2 separate regions of the Homo sapiens genome follow, and region 1 is linked to region 2. Evidence: promoter capture Hi-C in human tissues and cell types (Jung and others, 2019). All regions are on one chromosome and are shown on one strand. The core of a region is centred on a gene start or on the middle of the fragment in contact, and the rest is flanking DNA. Distances in the headings are between cores, read along the strand shown.

Region 1 (6,275 bases), core at 2,310-4,809, 220 kb after region 2:
GGGTTTCACCATGTTGGCCAGGCTGGTCTTGAACTCCTGACCTCAGGTGATCCACCCTCCTCGGCCTCCCAAAGTGCTGAGATTACAGGCGTGACCACCGTGCCTGGCAGTTTTACCCTTTTGTAAGCCAATAAAATTATTTTAATGATAGGATGTTCTCTTTTCTTTAAGGTTTTGTGGTATAGTATTGAACTGAAAATATTTGAGGTGACTGTAAAATACACATATTTCCCAAAATTATTCTTGAATTAAATGTCAAAACTAATATAAAAGCATAATTGAAAATTATAGGCATCTTGAAAGTTCCATAAAGACAGAAGTAAGGGTCATTCAGTCATTATTACTTTAGAAACCTTGATTAAATATGTGCCATGTGTTAGGCCTTTTGTTAGATGTTAGGGTGAGAGATTTTATAGGAAGAAGAAAAATAATGTTAATTTGTTTGAATAAGTACCATAATAGGTTTCCATACATACATACGTAATAGCTACACAGTAGCACAGGAGGCATTGGGAAATCACAGGAGGCTGCACAGAATGATTACAAAGAGTGTGGACTCTGAAGTCAAACTGCTGGATTTCCTATCCTAATCCTACCACTGTCTAGTTGTGTGATCTTGATCAAGTTCTTTAACTTCTCTCTGCCTTGGTTTTCTCATATAGATAGATATAGTAATACTTTTTACATTATGGGTTTGTTATGAGAATTAAATAAGTTAGTTTATGTAAAGTGCAAAGAGCAAGGAGAAGCATGGTCCTGTCCCAGGAAGGGAGAACGGGCAGTTCCTGCAGGTCATGGGAGGGTGAGAGAGCCCAGTTGGGTATTTCGAAGTACGTTTATGTGGCACTTGTGTGTTATGTGCCAGGTTCTCTGTTAGTAGTGAATTGGACACAGACCAAAAAGATACAGATCATGCATGCCCCCTTTATCTGACTGGACTAGAATGAATTCAAGTTATGAAAACATTTTATTATAGTAATAATTTAGTGTAATAGGAAATTAAGGGCAGCCTATATGTACCAAAGTGAGAAGGGGAGGGAGTGCCTAAGTCTGTGCTCTAAGTTCAAGGTTATGATGTTCACAGTGAAACCAGCCAAGTTGATACTGGTTTCTGAAGGTTTTTACCCCAAAACATCAACTTTCTTATTATGCTATCCCTACTCCCTAAAATCTATCCTTTCTTGCTTCCCCTCCCTCTCTTCCCCCATACTCCCCGCCGACTCCTTTTTCCCGCTCCCTTTACTCACCCTTCTCTAGCCATTCTTTCCATCCTTCCGTCCATCCACCTTTCCATCTAACCATCTGTGCACCTACTGTTTTTTACTGTTTTTCTGGCTTGTATGACTGCTTATTACATTTTGCATTTCTGGAATAGCTTTGATAATTCATTTACTTTGGTGAGAAGAGGTAATCTTTTAATTAGGTGGTTGTATAACATGGCTCCATTTTCTCTTCTCAGTCATTTTTGCAATTTATTTTTTCTAGATTAGAAATTTCATAATATGTTGCTGAATGTCTGCATGTAAATTGTAATTATATATGTGTTTATACCAACCTACTTCCAACAAGAATCTAAACCAAACACATTTTACAAGGCCTAAGCCAGACAAAGACGCCAGAGGAAAAGAAAACCATAGGCTAATAATATCTTTGAACATTGATGCAGAAATCCTCCAAAAAAAATTCAGGAAACTGAATTCAACACATATCAAAAAGATATACATCACGACCAGGTGGAATTTATTCCTGGCATATGAGGCTGACTTTATATATACACATTAATCAATGTGATAGATCATGTTAGCAGTATGAAACCTGAAAATCACATGAACACCTTGATTGACGCAGAAAAAGCATTTGAAGAAGTTGAGCATTCTTTCTTGATAAAAACTCTTTAACAGTTTAGCTGTGGAAGGAAAGCTCCTGCATATAATAGAAGCCATATATGAAAAAACCCATAGCTAACAATCAACAGGGAGCAACTCAGAGCTTTTCCAATAATATTTAATGCAAGGCAGGGATGCCTACTCTTGCCAATTCCATTCAGCATAGTACTGGAAGCACTAATGAACATCAAACAAGAAAAAGAAATAAAAGACATCCAGATTGGAAAGGAAGAAGTACAATTATCTGTATTTGCAGATGACATGATCTTATATGTAGAACCCCCTCCAAAATTTCACAAGAAAACCTGTTAGAACTAATAAATTCATTAAAGTTGCAGGCTACGAGGTCAACATACAAAAATCAGTAGTATTCCTATACACAAATAACAGCCTAGCCGGAAAAGAAATTAAGAAAATAATCTTGGCTAGGTGCTGTGGCTCATGCTTATAATCTCAGCACTTTGGGAGGCTGAGGCGAGAGGATCTCTTGAGTCTAGGGAGCTTCATGGATGGGAAGAATTAGTATTTTTAAACTTATACTGCTCAAAGTAATGTACAGATTTATACATAATCTCTATCAGAATTCCAGTGGCATTCTTCACAGAAATAAAAAAGCAATCCTAAAATTTGTAAAGAACCATAAAATACCCCAAATAGTGAAAGCAATAATGGGAAAATTGGAAGCACCATACTTCTTGGTTTAAAATAGTATTACAAAGCTATAAGCAATCAAAACCATATGGTGCTGGCGTAAAAACAGAAACATAGACCAATGGAACAGAGTAGAGAGCCCAGAAGTAAATTCAAACATATATTATTAACTAATTTTTGACAAGGGCACCAGTGGGGAAAAGATAGTTTCTTCAATAAGTGGTACTGGGAAAACTGGATTTTCACATGTAAAATTGGATTCCTATCTTAGACAATACATAAAGATCGACTCAAAATAGACAAAAGACCTAAATGTGAAATATGAAACCTTAAAAACTATGAGAAAATATAAGGAAAGCTCCTTGACATTGCTCATGGCAGTGATTTTTTTTGGATTTCACACCAAAAACTCAAACTTCAAAAGGAAGAATAAGTAAATGGAGCTACATGAAACAAAAAACCTTTGTGTATAGTAAAGAAAACAGTCAACAAAATAAAAAGGCACTCTATAGACTGTGAAAAAATATTTGCAAACCATGCATGTCATAAGGAGTTAATATTCAAAATTTATAAAGCACACTTGAAGTCAGTAGCAGAAAAATAACCTGATTAAAAACCGGGTAAGGACCTTATAAGACGTTTCTTCAAAGAAGACATAAAAATGGCTAACAGATATTTGAAAAGGTGCTTAACATCAGTAATTGTCAGGGAAATGCAAATTAAAACCACTGTGAGATACCATCTCACACCCATTAGGATGGTTGTTATCAAAAAGACAAGAGATAGCACATGTTGACAGTGATGCAGAGAAAAGAGAACCCTTGTATGCTGTTGGGAACTAGATTGGTATAGCTATTATGGAAAGCAGTATGGAAGTTCCTAAAGAAGTTAAAAATAGAGCCACCATAGGACCCAGCAATCCCTATTATGTACGTACCCAGAGGAGATGAAATCATGCATATCTGCACTTGGGCCAGGCGCGGTGGCTCACGCCTGTAATCCTAGCACTTTGGGAGGCCAAGGCGGGTGGATCACCTGAGGTCAGGAGTTCGAGACCAATCTGGCCAAAGTGGTGAAACCCCGTCTCTACTAAAAATACAAAAACTAGCTGGGCATGGTGGCACATGCCTGTAATCCCAGCTACTTGGGAGGCTGAGGCACAAGAATCACTTGAACTTGGGGGACGGTGGTTGCAGTGTGCCAAGATCACACCACTGCACTACAGCCTGGGCGACAGAGCAAGACTCTTGTCTCAAAAAACTAACTAACTAAATAAATAAATAAATTTTATTGTGTATATTTGAAGTTTACAACAGGTTATAGGATACATGTATTTATATTGTTACTATAATAGATTAACACATCTATCATCTCACAGTTACTATTTTGTGACAAGAGCAGCTAAAATCTACTTAACAAAAATCCATAATATGATACCATTTTATTAACTGTAATCCTCATGACATAACAATTGCAGCTCTAGATTTGCATCCTACATGTCTGCTGTGTATCCTATAACCCCATTTTCCCTCCCTCACACCCCCACACTGCTTGTCAGCCCATGGTAACCACTGCTTTATTCTCTACCTTTGTATATTTGACCTTTAAAAAAAAAAAAAGACTTCACATATAAGTGAGATCACACAATATGTTTTTTCCCTGTGTCTATCTTATTTCTCTTAGCATAATGTCCTCTAGGTCTATCCATGTTGTGGCAAATGGCAAGATCTCCTTTTTTAAGCTGAATAATTATCCTTTTTTTCTGTTGTGTCTGTGTGTGTGTGTTTTCTTCATCCATTTGTCCATGAAGGACACTTAAGCTTTTTCCATATATTACCTATTATAAATACTACCACAGTGAATATGAGAGTGCAGATACTTTTTATTTTTTTATTTTATTTATTTATTTATTTATTTTTGGTGAGAGGGAGTTTTGCTCTGTTGCCCAGGCTGGAGTGCAGTGGCACGATCTCGGCTCCTTGCAAGCTCTGCCTCCTGGGTTCATGCCATTCTCCTGCTTCAGCCTCCCGAGTGGCTGGGACTGCAGGCACCTGCCACCATGCCCGGTTAAGTCTTTTGTATTTTTGGTAGAGACGGGGTTTCACCGTGTTAGCCAGGATGGTCTCGATCTCCTGACCTCATGATCTGCCTGCCTCGGCCTCCCAAAGTGCTGGAATTACAGGCGTGAGCCACGGCGCCTGACTCGGTACTGTTAATTAACATTAACTGGCAGGGCTTGGTGGCTCATGCCTGCAATCCCAGCACTTTGGGAGGCCAAGGCAGACGGATCACTTGAGGTCAGGAGTTCGAGACCAGTCTGGCCAACATGGTGAAACCTCGTCTCTACTAAAAATACAAAAATTAGCCAGGTGCGGTAGCGTGCACCTGTAGTCCCAGCTACGTGGGAGGCTGAGGTGGGAGAATCGCTGGAACGCAGGAGGCGGAGGTTGCAGTGAGCCAAGATCGTGCTGCTGCACTCCAGCCTGGCCGACAGAGTGAGGTTCTGTTTCCCCGCTAAAAAACATTAATATTCCTTACTGTTCTGGATCTATTTCTATCTAGTCTAGAGGAAACAATAAGTAGAATTATTCCCACCAGCCCTTTATATTGTAGAGTTGTATGTTACTCTGTTTCTTTGAATGGTGTTGAGAGGAAATGGATCCATTTCATTTGACCCCTTGTTTAAGCTCTTTGGAGCAACCTCCCTGTTGGAACCAGCTGATCAGACTTGTGGGTTATATTGCTTCACCTTCATTGTGCTTCCAACACTGAGGAAAATGAAGGCAGAGGATTCTAAAAGTGGAAGTTGGCTGGGGAAGGTCTTTGTTTTGTTTTTATTGACATCTGGAAACTTCCAGGATTAACTAGATGTGTCACAAATGTAATTTAATATGAAGTAAGAACAAAATGAAAAATGATCATAAAAAGGAAAAGAAACTCGGCAGAAAAAGCATATGGAAAAGCGGATAGGCAGAGAGAGATGAAGTGTGAATGGACACAGTTGGCCAAATTGCAGTGTATCTTGTAGTTGCCATCATTCCAATCATGATGTGCAGTATATTGTATTTAGTGATAGGAGTTGGAGCTGCTACCTAATGATAAAACCAGTGTTTGCTCATAGTAGAAAAAATGTGAAAACCAAGTTTTGTGGGGCAAAATTCAGGAATAGAGATGCCAACTTTTTCACAATATGAATTAGTAAACATAGGTGTGGCCAGTTAATAGAGTTGGTGTTGCTGGGCCAAGTGTTTTTTAAAGCTTTGGCCGCTATTTCATGTCTCATATTTTTAACAGTTTTCCTTCCCCCTTTGAGGAAGGATTTCTAGTTAAATTTATGACCCATTTATGTTGGACAGTTGCAGATTTACTGATTCAACTTCTTTTTGTTGAAAAATAGAGCTACAAACTACTGCTCTTTAAGGAAACATGCATAGCCACTTTCTCTAGTTGGATTGAGCAGATGTCAGCTTGCTAAGAAGCAGCAATTCGTACTTCATAAAAACAATAAAAACATTGTTTTCTATGACTTATGAAATGAATGAGCTAAAATACTGTCCTTGTGTATGTATTTGATTGTTTTGTATTTACATACAGTAAATTTCTTTAATACAGATAAATCTGAAGCAGGCAAGAAGTAGTAGGTGATTTTTTTGTCCTCTTCCTGTGGGTTCATAGTTGTGCTATTCATCTTCATTTGTCCATAGTGGGTTTTCAGGGCCTGTAGGGGTGTAATTGGCT
Region 2 (6,756 bases), core at 273-2,772:
GATTACTGGCATGAGCCAATGCACCCGGCCTCCTATTGCTTTTTCCAAAGAAACATCACTGTCACTGTTGTCAAGAGACTCTATCTATCTATCATCTATCTATCTATCTATCTATCTATCTATCTATCTATCTGTCATCTGTCTATCAGTTTTTCTGCACTTTGCTTGTTTGACTTAATACATCAATATGTAAGATGCTTCATCAATCCTTTCTATATTTACTTATTATTCCAGTGCATGAATGTATTATTTATTTAACCAGGGACAGCACTTTCAACCATCTTTTTCATCAACAGTAACAGACTAAATGGCATATGTAAAAAGTTAGAAAAGGAAAGTTTTCTCCAGGCAAAAAGAAAATATAATCTAAAACAAAAATTTTTTTAAAAAACTGACTCTTTTTAATTACCCAATTCAATTAAAAAGCCTTTCAAGTCTATCCTGAAAGCTACAACTCAGTGCCATAGTTTATTTGCAAGACCTTTGCTAGAGTTAGAGGGGAGGCCAACATGATAGACCTAATTCCAGATACAAGGTAAGTCTTTGCCTGGAGTGGGGGGATAGGAGAATGATATTCCCACAAAACCAAGGCAATGCCTCTACTGTTCAATTTGCTCTCCTGCTTGTAAAGCCTCTGGCACACATTAAGGATTTGATCTATTATTATTACTTCTCCTGTAGTCATTTCTGTAAGTCCAAATATACTCAAATCACTTTACTCATAACCAGGAAAAATGTTTAGTTTGCTGCTTCCAATGGCTTTTTAATGACACCCCCTGTTTCTTCCCTTCATTAAAGCCGCATTATTTATCATACTGGCATTCTTGCTATAAACCACCGACGACCTTGCCAATCGACATCATTACATTGTCTTTTGAGAACCCTACAATTCCCATCATGGACTCATTTACTCTTCTTTCCTTAAATCTTTCCTAAGTCACCAGGGTCATTATCCTGAACCCTTTTAATCTTTGTTCAACTATTGATTGTCACATATTTTTCCTTATTCCAACTTATAAGGCTAATATACCGACTATAAAAATTTAAAAATAAGTTATTTTACTTGGCAAGCTCTCGCTTCTCATCTTCTATGGCTCTGATGGCTTTCCTCTCCAAACTTCTGAGAGATGGTCGCAGACAGTAAAGCTTATAATCACACAGGCAACATGGGTAGAGATCACACAGGCCGCAAGAGCGTGATCGCTTGGAATAGCACAAGCAGTACGGATATGGGTGCAAGTCACAGCAGCAATAGGGGTGCATATACAAGTCGCACAGGCACCGTGTGCTAAATTCGTCGATGCATCTCAGTTGCCTTAGTTCTCTGTCCACCTTCTTTATGTCCCTTCTGACACTGTCCAAGAGACAACTCAGTGCAGCCATTATGGTCACACCTGATTGTTCTGTGAGTACCTTTGGGAAATGGCACTCCGGGAAAAAATTTGTTCTAAGCCCTTCTCAGAAGTTGCTTTTAAAAATAAATGAGGCACACATGATTCACTTACTTTAAAGCTTGTGTTCTATGACCTCACCACCTTCTGAAGTATGTCATAGTCTTCTGGTTACCATGTGAACTGTACACAGTCATGGTCTCCAGAGACCATCCTCAGAGTTACAGAGCTACTCTCAGAACCATACTCGTGTTGAGATTTCACTCACCTTCAAGGAGGATGGGTCTCCCAAGCGAGCATAGCTCATCGGGGTGCATGGGGCTGGCCACTAACATCCTTGCCTTGTGTGTGCTCTGGGGACCAGCCATGGCTATGACTGTGTGTTTGTTGAACTTGGTGCAGGCGAAGGCAGGAGCTGCCCACGCCTTTCTCCATGACCTTCTAGCTCTAGCCTTGATTGGAAGCTTGGCCTTGCTCCTTTTGTTCTAGAATTCATTCTGTCTCCAGACAGGTAGAATATAAAGAATGTTCTCATCATTCTCCTCCTACCAAGTCATCCTCAAGTCAGCCATTGTCCTTGACCTTCTGAGTTACAAGTCTCTGAGTCCTGCCCATTCTGCGCCAGCTGTGGTCATGGCTGTTCGGGAACCTCATTTCTCTACTGGTTGGGGGTCCTGTCCTTAAGCTCCCATCTGTCAGTCCTCGGGGGCCTGTCCTGGGGAACTACCTCCCATCAACTACACCTTTGGTCTTGCATCCAAGCCTCCGGATGTCTTGTCCCTGAGTGCTTCCCAAATGTTGGTCTTTGATGTTCTTGTAGCCAACCGCCTGAAGATGCTGGAAGCCAACTGCCTGAAACCCCCGCTTCGGCCAGTTTCCTTTACTTTCTGTTCAGTTAACATCCTAGACCTCTGATTCGGCCTCAGATTTGGCTCTCGGTGCCTCTACTCCTCTGGTCCTTTCACCTCAAACTGCGGTCCAGCTCTCGAGTCTCCCTTGTATGAACTAGAGCTCAGGTATTGATGACAAGTGGTTGGATGTGACACTGGTGAGGGAGACAAGGGCCAGGTTTGAAGGGACCTGTAGCCAGACTAAGGACTCTGAACTTTATTTTGAGCCCAACGAAGGATTGTTGATTTTCTTTTCTTTTGTCAGAAGTGAGACAGCCACACTGAAGGTAAGTTGCTAGGGACAATAGTAGTGGGGTTTTCTGCTGCAAGACAAGAAGAGACAACAAAAATCTGGACTGGGGATCATGGCTATGGGGATGGCAAGGAGGAAGCCAATGGGAAAGCCTTCCCCCACCTCTGCCCAGGCCCCATCTAATCCATTTTCCACATTGTAGCCACAGCGACTTTCATATAGAAATCTGTCATTCCTCAACCTTCCCCACCCATCATCCCACTCACCTTAAAAGTCTTCTCTGTCCTCTCAAAAAAAGGACCAAAATCTTTACCAGGTGCTGAGCAATGGGGCCTCTCCCACTTCCCCACTCTCCTCTCCCATCCTAGTATTATTGCAATTCATTACCCCTCAGCCACGATGGCCTTCCTGGAAGACCACTCACTTTCCAGAGGCCGTTCCTTAGTCCCTTGAAGGACATTCCTCATTCCTTCCACCTCATTCAGAGCTCATACACAGGACGTTCTGCCTGCTTAGAAATTGAACTCCCCACCTATGACTTTCATCCATTTAATTCTTAAGGCACCCTTTAGATCTCCCCCTTTCTTGGGGAAGCCTTCTCTGTCTCCCAGACTAAACACTCTCTTAACTTAGGATACATTTCCTTCATGATATTGTTTCCCCAGCTGGACTGTAAGCCACGAGGGCAAGGACCTTGTCTATTTTTGCTTCGCAGTAGATACCTAACACAATGCCTGGCACATAGCAGGTGCTTGAAATGTACTCACTGAATGACCATCTGGGTGAATTCAACAGGATTTAGTGAACAGAGTGAGGATGGAGTGAGGGAGGAATCAGTGGTGACTTCCAGCTTTCAAGCTTGGCAGACTCTTGGTGCCACTGAGATAAAAATAACACAGGGAGAAGAGTAAGTTTGGGGATTTGGTGAACAGGTGGTGCTGGTGACAACTTTAAGGTAGAAATCTGGAGTATTCTGTGGATAAGAGGGTCTGGAATTTGAGGAAAGCCTGGGCTAGAGATATAAATTAGGAAGCCACAATTCCATAGGTAGTTGGAACCCTGGAAACAGGCAAGATAATTCAGAATTTAAAAAGAGAGCTGAAGCCGACTCCCAGGGAAAAATAAGTAGAAATGAGGAGAGTGAAGGAGTCCATGAAAGGCTCATAGAAGGAGTAACAGAGGGCGACAGCCCCCTCAGCTGGAGTCCCTTGGGAGTCACTAGACCAAGCATGGCATTCCCAATGGCTCGATGTTCCCCAGCCTTGACTTAGGAGGCCCTTTTCTGTGCAGATAATGTGTCTTAGCAAACAAGTGTCCCTAGAGGCATTAGAATGAGAGGCTGGCCCCTTGAGTCACGTGGAATGAGTCAAAAAGCAAAGCTGAATGATTCTCCTCTATGGACAAATTCTGACCTCTTTAAAAGTGATTCCACTGTGATTTGATTCTGAGGGGTGGACCCTATTAATAGAAATATGGCCTACTCTTTCCTGAGAGTTAATTGCAGGAGTTGTACAGATTTCTCTAGCTCCAGGTGACAGAGAATTCTTATATCACCTTGAATTCTATCCCTTAGCAAATGTCAGCAAAGATTGAAGCAGGCAAGCTCTCAGTTTAATATTATTATATACACAAGTTCAGGTGCCTAAATACACACATCTGTGTATACATGGTACATTATTAAGATGGGTATAGCTATATTTCAACTAGGATTCTCCCATTATCCCACCTTCCTAGTGATTTTTCTTTTTTTATTTTGAGACAGGGTCTTACTCTGTCACCCAGGCTGGAGCACAGTGGCATGTGCTCTCTGCAGCCTTGACCTCCTGAGCTCAGGTGAGCCTCCCACCTCAGCCTCCCCAGTAGCTGGGGCTATAGCCATGCACTACCATGCCTGCCTAACTTTTGTATTTTTTGTAGAAATGGGGTCTCACCATGTTGCCCAGCCTGGTCTCAAACTCCTGGGCTCAAGCCATCTGCTCACCTTGGCCTCCCAAAGTGCTGGGATTACAGGCATGAGTCACCACTCCTGTCCCTTCCTAGTGATTTTACTCTTCATCATGAAGTATATTCTTATCATTTTAAGTGACTAAATAAAGGTAGTGTCTTCTTTAATGATGAGATGGAAATGTGATCTATTCATATCAGAAGGATTTTAATATGGATTCTAATATGGAACTAGGACCTTCCGTATGCAGGACTATGTCCATGGAATCTCTCATTCACCTTGGCTGGTGTCCGGATAGAACCTCCTCTGGATGGAAGGCAGGTCTTGACACTTTCCCAAGTTGGGCAACACTTGCTTGGTCCCCAATGTTGGTGAAATCATGAGCCAAAGAAGGTCCCCTCTGCCTCTTCCAGCAGGTAGCACAGCTACAGCTCAAGTCTCGTCACCAGACCAATGTTACAAAGACACTTTTCTAACAGTTGTTAGGTCAGTACACAGTGCTTAAACATCAAATATGAAAGTATACACACAGTGTGACCTGAACTCTGTAAAAAAGAATCCATAGGCTAGGTGTGGTGGCTCACACCTGTAATTCCAGCACTTTGGGAGACCGAGGTGGGGAGAATCACTTGAGGCCAGGAGTTTGGGACCAGCTTGGGCAACATAGTGAGACCCCATCTTCTACAAAAATATTTAAAAATTAGCCAGGTATGGTGGCACATGCCTATGGTCCCAGCTACTCAGGAAAATGAGGAGGGAGGATCATTTGAGCCCAGAGGCTCTAGGCTACATTGAGTTATGATTGCACCTCTGCACTCCAGCCTGGGCAATAGGGTGAGACCCTGTCACAAAAAAAAAAAAAAAAAAAAGGAGAGAAACACCCTGAAAAATTAGCTGTGGTTAACTCTGGCTAGTAGAATCATAGATGGCTTTTAAAATTATTTTTTCTAGACTTTTCTGTGATTTCCAAATTTCTTCTATGAGGATATCACCAGTTTTATAATGAAACACTTTCTGATATTGTACTCTCAAGAAATCAGCTGTGTACTGAATCGCTAAGCCCACCTTTGGCCCCTGCCATCCCCCTAAGCAGGCCATTGGGGAAGTCTCCCTGGAATGGACATCTGGAATTTGGTCTGTCCATCATCCATGGCATCTTCTTTTGGTAAAATAACTTTCTCCGCTCCCCACTCCCACCCTCCACCATTAAGTGCTGCCAGTAAGTTGCCTAGCCAAAGGGCAGGCATGAAACCAAAGCTGGCTGATCTGACTGTCTTCTGGGAATTTGATCTTTAGCAGAGAGACATAAAGCCTGAAGACAGTTGGAGCTGATTCATTCTGACAGTGCACCCTAGGAGACTACACCTTAGTTACTGCCCTGTTCCATAATTTTCAAGTTGGTCCCTGGCTTCTCTTTGGGCCTGAGAGCTCCTGCACATCTTTCCAATAAGCTCCCAGTCAGTTACCCAGTCAGTTTCTGTTTCTCGTATTTAAAGAACCCAACTGAGATGACAGCTTGTGCCCTGGATCTACCCACAGATGGCCATTCCAGGCTGACCTTGCAAGTCAGCTGTGGCTCCAGTGGACATTGTCCCAAGCAAGTCCAGCTCCTCCCTCTTAACCCAGATCCAGCTGCATCAGGGCAGCAGCCATCCTGAAGGCCCTGTGGGTATGGATCAATGACAGTGACCCACACTAGGGAAAATGGCTGAAAATCCCCAGGAAGACCCCTACATGAACACTGTCCCTGGAGCCAGAGAGGCTTCACTGGTGCCAGAATCTCAGAACTTTAGCTTTGGAAAACCCAAGTCATCCAGAGAGCTTCCTACTCAAGTAGAAAATCTCTGCTATAGCACCCCGGGCAGATAAGTATGGAAGAAATTAGGGCTTGTGTATGGGTTGAGATGCCCTCTTATTGGTGTGGATAGCCAATACGCCTATGACTAACCATACTGATTAGCGTAATTTTTTCTCCCCCTTTTCTCCCCAGCCCACAAGGTCTTTAGCAAATATCTTCCTGCTAAATACAGTGAGGGATAAGGAGGAGGAGGGTGTTCGTATATTCTCTTACAGCTGCACCCAACAGAAGTGAACCTGAGGGTCCAAGTTACTACAGAGGAAAGGCTGCTTTCTCCTGGTGGGGTCTAAAAGCTCTAGAGCAGTTCAGAGTGTGCTTTCCTTTTGCTTGCAGCAGATCATTCAGATATTGAGAAAGAATCATGTGAATTTTACATACCAAATAAATACATGAATAAGTTCCTCATTAAGATTTGAGGA

What was found. Contacts are between HindIII fragments. The study calls those that stand out against the background at their distance.
Region 1: a contact is called between a fragment that was not itself captured here and the fragment with the promoter of ODF1 in region 2, in 1 of the 25 tissues and cell types used here (lymphoblastoid cells).

The regions. Positions count from the first base shown.
Region 1 is chr8:102,333,082-102,339,356 of GRCh38, reverse strand. The region is part of intron 9 of UBR5 (ubiquitin protein ligase E3 component n-recognin 5); the gene reads left to right. Among named protein-coding and RNA genes, the nearest start is that of UBR5, 76 kb to the left of the region's middle. The HindIII fragment of the contact is 3,034 bases long and covers 2,043-5,076 here.
Region 2 is chr8:102,546,355-102,553,110 of GRCh38, reverse strand. It overlaps ODF1 (outer dense fiber of sperm tails 1), which reads right to left and starts at 1,522. Exons shown (of 2, transcript NM_024410.4): 1 at 1,064-1,522. The coding sequence starts at 1,383. LOC124901998 (a long non-coding RNA gene) reads right to left here. Exons shown (of 3, transcript XR_007061039.1): 2 at 3,302-3,413; 3 at 2,515-2,604. LOC105375684 (a long non-coding RNA gene) reads left to right here and starts at 2,483. Exons shown (of 2, transcript XR_928478.3): 1 at 2,483-2,568. The HindIII fragment of the contact is 1,295 bases long and covers 1,330-2,624 here.